2 separate regions of the Homo sapiens genome follow, and region 1 is linked to region 2. The links are contacts of gene promoters, found by promoter capture Hi-C in blood cells and fetal thymus (Javierre and others, 2016). All regions are on one chromosome and are shown on one strand. The core of a region is centred on a gene start or on the middle of the fragment in contact, and the rest is flanking DNA. Distances in the headings are between cores, read along the strand shown. Region 1 overlaps OLFM1 (olfactomedin 1). Region 2 holds the start of LINC02907 (long intergenic non-protein coding RNA 2907).

Region 1 (4,322 bases), core at 288-2,787, 250 kb before region 2:
CCTAGTTCGTAAAGCACGCTCACCTTGAAGGAATAGAATTTGTTTTTTCTTTAGCCACCTGAGTAAATCATTTTAAAAGAATTAAAGTAAGATACATTTAACATTCCACCAACATTTATTAACACCAAACTAGACCAAAGCCTAACTGAGCCTTTAATTATTCAGAAGCTTAGATGGGGGAGGCGGCACTTGGAGGGGCCTCTGGGCTGTGGGGGCCGGCGAGAGTCAGGAGGGGAAAACAGAGCCCTGAGCCCAGGGAGGAGGCATTTGCGGGGAGAGCAGAGAGTTGGGAAATGGATTCCAGAATGCTCCATGAGCCCCTGGGACTGCAGGCCCTGGAATGTTCCTTCCTGCCTGTGCGTGCCACAGCATTACTGCTTAAAAATTTAAAGCCCCATTTGATACCATAGCGGGCACTCTATTTTCAGAGGGCATGAGCCATTTGCTATGAAAGAGGGCCCTTGCTCCTTAATGCACTGTGCATTTTAGCAGGAGGCAGCGCTGCTCCGTCCTCAGCTTCCCCCGCACACCCTGGCCTGTGTGCTATTTTCTTTCTTTCCTCTTTCTCTTTTCTTCTCTTGCTTTCTCTTCATGGGCAGAAGCAGGACAGGGTGCTCCAGAAACCTCAGCCCATGTGCCCTGTTGATAGGGCTGGGTCACAGCTGAGCATATTCCAGCCAGGTCGGTATTTCTGTGCCCTGGCTTCACCTTTAACCCACCTGGTGAGGCTGCAAGGTACTGAGTCCCAGGCCCCACCTCCAGAGTCTCTGATTTCTGTTGCCCTGGGGTCCCTGTGGGGAACCCAGGTATGTACAGCCCTGGAAGCCTCACCAGGTAGTTCCATGCAGCTAGGGTCGAGCACTGTAGGGACACAGATAGTGGCAGGCGTGTGGCACGGGCTCCGTTCTCTTTGAAGAAGCACTTGGCTCTGGGTTTGAGAGTGTAGGCTTTGGAGCCAGTCCAGCTTGAACTGGCAGGCCTCCTGGCTGGGTGACAGTAAGCAAGTTGCTTAACTTCTCTGAGCCTTGGTCTCCCTATGTGTAAAATGGGACTCAAAATAGTACTTATTCATTTCCCGGGGTTTTGTAAAGATCAAATGAGATAAATAACACAGCAGACTCAGTGCAGTGCCTGGAACATGGGAAAGGATGGATAATTATTAGCTGTTAGTTATCTTGAGGCCAGGTGTGTCTTTGTGTGTTGCTGGCCCCCCTCCCGCTTCTTAATGCCTGCTGCCCCGTTGGGTAGGGTGTGGGATAGACTGTCATCCCGTAGCTCTGTGACCCTGAGCCTGCCAGTTGGCTCCTCAGAGACACATCCTGCAGGCAAGAAAATGAAGGTGCTCAGAGGAAGGGCTGTGCTCAGAGGAATGCCTTCCCTAGGGTTGGGAGATGGGTGCGTGATTGCAGTCCTAGACTGACTGTGAGCTGGAGGCAGACCTGTGCCTGTGCCTTGTCCATGGCCAGAAAGGAAAGTGCATTCAGGGTTAGGAGAACTATAGGAGAGTAATTGTTTGGTTTTAAGGCAGCTGAATAGCTTGGTATCTTTAAAATTTGTTTTTTAAATCTAAAGTCTAATCTTTGAAATCTTTTAAAAGCATTCCTTCTCTGGGGAGCAAAAAGCCTACAGCACCGTGTGTGGTCTCCTGACTGAGGCCAGCATGAGCTCAGCAGCTTCTCCTCGGCACTTGTGGGCCTTCGCTCCTGGGGATTTTGCCAGGAGGGGAATGGAGAGAGGGGTCTGGACTGGCGCCGCCATTTGTATTGTTGCTTCCTCCGGCCATGTGGCTGCAGGAGCTACTCCCGTGCACTAGATTTACTGGACTTTGTGCAGGGGTTACAGATGTGGATGAGACCCAGTGTCACTCCCCCCATGAGCATCCTGTCCGGAAAGCTGTGGGGGGACAGCTGTGTGGCTCACTCCTAGGCAGACATTGTGCCAACAAAGTGACGTTGTTGTTTCCAAATAGTTTGCAGCTAGTTTTAACTCAGTCCATCAGAGAAGCCTCCCTGGAGGAGGTGGCATTTGGGCTGGGCCTTGAAGGACGAATATAGACAAACTTTACATCTTTTCTTGAAAAAGGTGCTGTAGTTATTCAAAGTGACAGAGGAAGACAACAAGAGAATCAGGCAGGTGGTATTAGAGGTATGCTTCCGTTTCTCGGGGAAGAGAAGGGGTGAGAGGGAGCTGAAGCCACCCCGTCGTGTACTTTACAAACTTAAAATTTCAAGATGAGTTTGTGTGTGTTACTTTCTGATAACAAGATATGAAATTCCTTGCATTTTGGGGTGCTGAGATTGGCAATAGTGGTTTTCCTTCTACTGAGGAGGCTTGGTTTGCTCTCTTGTATTTTACTTTATTTGGCGGGGTGGAGGATGTATAGTAAGAAGTAGAAACCACACTGTCCTCTTTTCACACTGACCGGCAAAGCTAAGCCTCATCCCCAAATGATTTTGTTCCTAGAAGGGAGAGTATTTTCAAATTCAGCAGAAAAGTCAGGAGTGAAGATTTGCTGTCATGGAGGTAACTTCCTCTCTAGTAATTGGATTAGATTCTGAGAAAATGACCCAAACACCACTGCAGCAATCCTCAGCTTCCTCCCGCCTCCCCGCAGCCCCGAATGCATTTGCACAGAAGCACACACCAGTTTCCTGCAAATAAAATGCACTGGCAGGTGGCTGCACTAAAACTGTTTTTCTTTTAAGCTCCCTGGAATCCTGTTGAATATTAAAGTTCCATCTTGAGGCTAGACTCAATTCAGATCTGCCTGTAAAGATGTAAAACAGCGATTCTTCATTTGCTGGGTGATTGATTCCTGACTCTATGCTCAGAATGTACATGTTTGCAGAGCAGTCATCTACCTATGATACTGTGGGGTGTGATGGATGGCATAGCAGATAGGGAAAAAAGCTTGATGCAGAGTCAGGGAGAGCAGCTCCCTTGTTCCTTCACTCTGCACTTAAGTAATCAACCTTATCAGCAAGACAGTCAATGAGATTTAGGAAGAAGGAGAATTTATACCTGGGGGCGGGGCAGCCTAAGAGTGCCATTCCTCTCTGCTGGTGTTTATGCTTGCCTAACTAATGTTGTCCTGCAACAGAAAGACTAGGAACAATCCCCACCCACCACTACCAAAAAAAAAAAAAAAAGAGAGAGAGAGAGATCAAGAGAAATCACCCAGCCTGTGCCTGGAGCTACAGCGAATAACGGAACTTGAGTCTCCTACACCCCTGATTTGCATCCCTGATGATAAGAACAGGTTGGCAAAGAAAATGTTTACCCAACCAATTTGCTGTGTTTGGGGAGTTATCAGTCCTCACAGTCCGCGATGCTGGCGATTACCTTGTAAATAATGCATGGGCCACTTCTGGTTCCCAGTGTGCTGGCTGTGTGGGAAAGGGCAATGTCTGTACGAGCAGGCAGAGAAGATTGCCTGGCACCTACTGCGGCTGTTTTGCTGAACCTGTTGCCCTTTTGACAGGTGCAGAACATGTCTCAATCCATAGAGGTCTTGGACAGGCGGACCCAGAGAGACTTGCAGTACGTGGAGAAGATGGAGAACCAAATGAAAGGACTGGAGTCCAAGTTCAAACAGGTGGAGGAGAGTCATAAGCAACACCTGGCCAGGCAGTTTAAGGTATGCATGTTCCTCCCCCTCTCCCTCCCCTTATCCTCCTCCTCCTCCTCTTCCTCCTCCTTCCCCTCCCTCCTCTCCTCCTTCTCTTCTTCCTCCTCCTCTTCTCCTCCTCTTGCTCCTCCTCCCTTCATCCTCCTCTTCCTCCTCCCTCTCCTTCTTCTCCTCCTCTTCCTCCTCCTCCCCCTCTTCATCCTCCTCTTCCTCCTCCCTCTCCTTCTTCTCCTCCTCTTCCTCCTCCCTCTCCTTCTTCTCCTCCTCTTCCCCCTCATCCTCTTCATCCTCCTTTTCCTCCTCCCTCTCCTTCTTCTCCTCCTCTTCCTCCTCCCTCTCCTTCTTCTCCTCCTCTGAGGCTGGGTGTGCTTTCCCTTCATGCTCTCCCTTTCCCTACAGAAATGGTCATTTGGGGCAGGGAGAAGCATAGCAAAGGTTGTTCTGTGCCTTGAAAGGACTGTTGCCCTTGGCAGTAGGGAGGCCACCACTGGCCCTGGCTTGGCAGAAGCCACCTTGACAGGGGCGGCCTGAGTGGTGGCAGCAGCATACACTCGCCCCCAAGCCCCCGTCAGTGTGGTTTGGAAGCCAGGGGTCTGAGATCCTGCGCTGCCCGAGCCAAGTCGAATATTAGCTGGGAAGGGACATCGTTATTGGCCCTTGTCATTCTGCAGCTGCTGCAGGTAAATCACATTAG
Region 2 (4,139 bases), core at 1,613-4,112:
AATCCAAACGCTATAAATTCCAAAGAATAAAGGGAGCTTGGCCCCCCCTCGAGACCCCCTTTCCCTGGCATGGCTGGCAATCAGGCCTCTAATTACGTTTCCTGTTTGCAACTGGCAAATAAAATATTTAGGCAGCCTACACTGAGTGTTCCAGGCCCGGCCCGGCCCGCAGCTGCACTGCCCCCAAACAGGAAGGCATACAGACAAAAAAATTAAATGAAACAAATGGCAGATAAATACAGGCGCGTTGTTTTAAAAATTCATAAACACTAGCCTCTGATGCAATTTATTTTGGTTAACTAGTGAAAAACCCATGTAACTTACTGAAGAGATTCGATTGAAGCATGATTTTTCAAGAAATGCCATTGAATGGCTTCTCACCATGTGTGCTGTGGCTCAGCAGGCTCCCAGAATGGGGTGTCCCCCAGGTCCCATCAGAACCTAACAAACAGACAAAGTGGCCAGCAACAGCTGCACAGGGGCTGCACGGACGGGGCGTCCGCTCTGCTGCTGACCAGATGGGCAGGCCCAATAAACAACCCCTCAGTTTCTCCATCTGTGACTCGGGAGCCATCAGCAGAAAGCTCTTGCAGGGCTGTGGGGAGCTCAGTGCACCCATGAGGGCATCACAGGCACGGTGCCCTGCACCTCAGGGGTGCCCTGGGCGGGCAAGGTCTTCTTCCAGCCTGACTGCCCCAAGAAAGGGATAGGGTGCTTTGCACAGACCCCAAATCCACAGTCCAAGCTGCGGTGTAGTTTTGCTGAGATTCTGGAAATTCCTTTCTATTTTGCAAAAAGAGGAGCCAAGGACCAGCACCAGAGGGGTGGCCCGGGGCCCAGGCACCCACCCAACTGAGCTGCGGCAGAGGGCAGCGGGCTCTCTGCAAACTGTAACAAGTTGGCTCTGTGGCCCTGTCTGTCAGAGGAGGAGGCTGTTCCCAGGAGACGTGGGCTCCACGGGAGACGCGCCGGCTGCGCTCAGCGGGGAGAGGTTGTCGCTCCAGTCCCTAGTGGAGGTCTGTTTGTGCAGGAAGCCGTCATCAGCAGAGAGGCTTTTATAGAAAGCCTCACCATTCCCCCTGCACCTAATTTGAGATGAAGGAACTCATTTGCTACGGAAGGCTCTAGAAAGTGGCTGCTGGCATGGTGGCAGGTGTGTGGGGATGGGAGAGGTGGCAAGAGGTCCAGGGACCCAGGCAGGATGGCCACTTATGGGTGTCCAGGCACCCACAGCTGACCCATGGGGCCCAAGCAAGAAGGACGCCAAGGCCACAGCGGGTGGAAGGGACCTGGTGGGAGACCCAGCTGAGGACAGCAGAGGCTGAGGACAGCAGAGGCTCAGCCCCACTTCCCCTGTGGTCCCTCACAAAGCCCCTCCCTCTTTCCAGACTCCTCCCCTCAGAACCTTCTCCGTCCGCCCACCGGCCAAGGCTCAGAGGGCTCTGGGGAAGGCGTGCGGGGTGGCAGGGCCCACCCAGGGTCCGGGTGCACCTGCAGGGCAGGCCCCGAGCTGCTCACCTCCCTGCTTTCCTCAGCCTCGAAGCAGCCAGGGCTCCTGGGCAGGGCGCCACAGCAGCCTCTATTTACCCCTCTGTAAAATGGGAAGAAAGTTCTCCCCAGGTGAGGCTGTCTCATGACTAAATCAGACACTCCAAGCTGATGCTCTGAAGCCACAGGTGTCCCTGCATCCCCATCACTAATACTGTCCTCTTTCCTACCATGGACAGGGGGCTCAGCGCCCAGGAAAAGAGCTCCACACTTTTCTAGCATCCCCTCGGGAGCTCTGGTTCCATAGAAGGGGGCTCCCAGTGTCCGATGGGGCTGAGCACAGCATGCAGCTGGGGCCCCCGTGTCCTAGGGATCCGAGAGCACACTGTTGGGCAGCAGCTCCTGGACGGGGCCCACCAGCCTTTGTGCAAACCAAGAAGGAGCTCGTCCCCTGGTACCAGGGCACCCAGCTGGCAAGCACAGGTGGCTGGACCCTGGCTCCCTCATTGGCACCTGCGGGGCCACATCGTGACCTTTGTGGGCCCCAGACACCATTCCCCCTGCACCTGATGGATCCATCGCTTTGCCCAGCCTTGGCTCTCGAGGTGACCTTCAAGGACTGCTGCAAGGACTGCCCCGCCAAGGAGCCTGGCACAGGCTGTTGGACACAACCCCAATTACTGACAGGTTCGCAAAGACACCCAAGCTGCAGGGCCTTGGCAGACGGGTAAGCAGCCTGATCTCGTCCAGAAATCTTGTCCACGTGCACCTCCCGGGAGCCCTCCTTCGGAGATGGCCGAGGCCTGATGCCCCAGAAGTCACTGTGTCCAGCTCCCACCTCTCCTGCCCCTCAACCCCTCAGTTCCTCCCTGGGAACCACCTGTCAGCTGCCCCAGCCTGGATTTGTGTTTTCACCCGGGAGTGACTCGGGGCCTCTGGTGGCCTGGGGAGATGGGGGAGCTTCCTGGGTCCAGGCACCAGCAGTCACCTCTGTCCCCAAGGAAGGCCCTGCCAAAGGGCCGGGCACCAGGTGCTCCACGTTTAGGCCAGGACTAGTTGATGGCTGCCCAGGCTCCCAATGACACATTCCCCTCCTCCGGGGTTGTCCCTGCTGGGCCTCTGTGCCAGCTGACAGCCAGAAGTCTGGTGATCGAGCCCGGTGGGGTCTCTGCCTGGGGAGGGATCCCTGGGTTTTGTCCCCATGCAGTGGGGGCTCAGGAAGTGCCCCCCAGCTTCCTCCTGCCTCTCAGCATTCCCAGCTGCCAGCACAGAGAGGCTGGGCTCAAGTCTTCTCCAAGGCCAGTGCCACCCTCCACCAGGTCCCACTGAGCCTCATGGGGCTGGTGGAGCCACCTGCCCACCTCAGCACTGCATCTCCAGCCAGGGCTGAGTGGCAGTGTGGGCACCGCGGCCCGGGACGACAGCCTGGGCTCAGAGTCAGGCTTGTGGCTTCGCCTCTCAGCTTGCGTCTCCTCCCCTGTGGGATGGGGGATTCCGTGGCACCCCCATGATGAACAGGATGCCATGGGCCTCAGCCCAGGGCAGACCTCAGTGTCCTTCCTGTGGCCGCTGCTGGAGGTGCGTGACCACAACACAGGTGTGTATCGATGTCACTTTGCGTCATGCCTGTGGGGAGGGCCCTCTCGCCCCATGGTCTCCATGGGGCCTCATCACACCTGGGAGGTAACTGGGGCATCTCAATTTTACAGATGAGTAAATGGAGGCTCAGAGCAGTTACAGGCTGAGGCTGAGACCTGGGCAGGTCTTTGTCATCTTGGAGTCCAGCACATACACAGGGCTAGCCTCCAATGGGCTAAAGGGAGCTGCCTCCTATACCTCCCTGTCCCCAGACACACACACAGAACCCCCACATATGCACAAGAGCACACGGCCACAGGAGTGTGTGCAGGTGTGTGCATGCATGCATGCGCATGCACACACATCCTTGCACAGAATGCACAAGGCACACACAGGCACAGGCGTGTGCACACACGTGTACACACACACATGCCTGCATGCATACCTCCCGGCTCCACAGAGGGGAGGGGGCATTTCCCAGGCAGGCTATGCTTCTCCAGCAGTGAGCGAACAAAATCTGTGCTCTGGGTGCCCAGAGCCCGGCAATGAGGGGATCTCACACCCTCCAGGGAGGGGACTCGTCCCCGCCACTGTGCTGACGCCTGGGTCTCCAGAGACCCTCCTGGAACTCCGCCAGGCCTTCCTGGGTTCCAGACAGGCCCGCCACGGGCATGACGCAGCGCCATCTAGCGGACAGCAGGGCTGCAGCGTGGACAGAACGGCCGGACGCCCAGTCCTGGGCTGGCGGCTGAGGAACAGCCTCACAGGGCAAGAGGGCAGGCAACACCTGCATCTTTCCGGCATAAGAACCTCAAGAAAAGCAAAGGAATATAAGCCTGTGTTCTTTGGAGCCACCGAAATCTCTGTTCTCATGGCAGTCGCTGAAAGTTTAAGGGAGCCGCCACCGCCCCAATGGGGTTGGTTTCTTTCTTCCCTGTTTTTAAAGATCTTTTAAAATGTCTAGAGAGACCCTGGGATCCAGTGCTGGACGGATGATGCAGGTTTGTGTGCATTTGGGTTCTTGCCCCACCCTCAGCCTCAGCCACAGCCACAGCATGGCTCCCTGGTGGTCT

The links. The method cuts DNA at HindIII sites, captures the fragments that hold promoters and counts their contacts. A CHiCAGO score of 5 or more calls a contact.
Region 1: a fragment that was not itself captured here is called in contact with the fragment with the promoter of LINC02907 in region 2 in 1 of 17 cell types (endothelial precursors); the score reaches 9.1 in endothelial precursors.

Annotation. Positions count from the first base shown.
Region 1 is chr9:135,092,383-135,096,704 of GRCh38, forward strand. OLFM1 (olfactomedin 1) reads left to right here. Exons shown (of 6, transcript NM_001282611.2): 3 at 3,482-3,637. Among named protein-coding and RNA genes, the nearest start is that of OLFM1, 6.9 kb to the left of the region's middle. The HindIII fragment of the contact is 2,742 bases long and covers 167-2,908 here.
Region 2 is chr9:135,340,387-135,344,525 of GRCh38, forward strand. It overlaps LINC02907 (long intergenic non-protein coding RNA 2907), which reads left to right and starts at 2,863. Exons shown (of 3, transcript NR_171012.1): 1 at 2,863-3,085; 2 at 3,636-4,067. RefSeq lists an enhancer at 1,904-2,616. The HindIII fragment of the contact is 15,144 bases long and covers 1-4,139 here.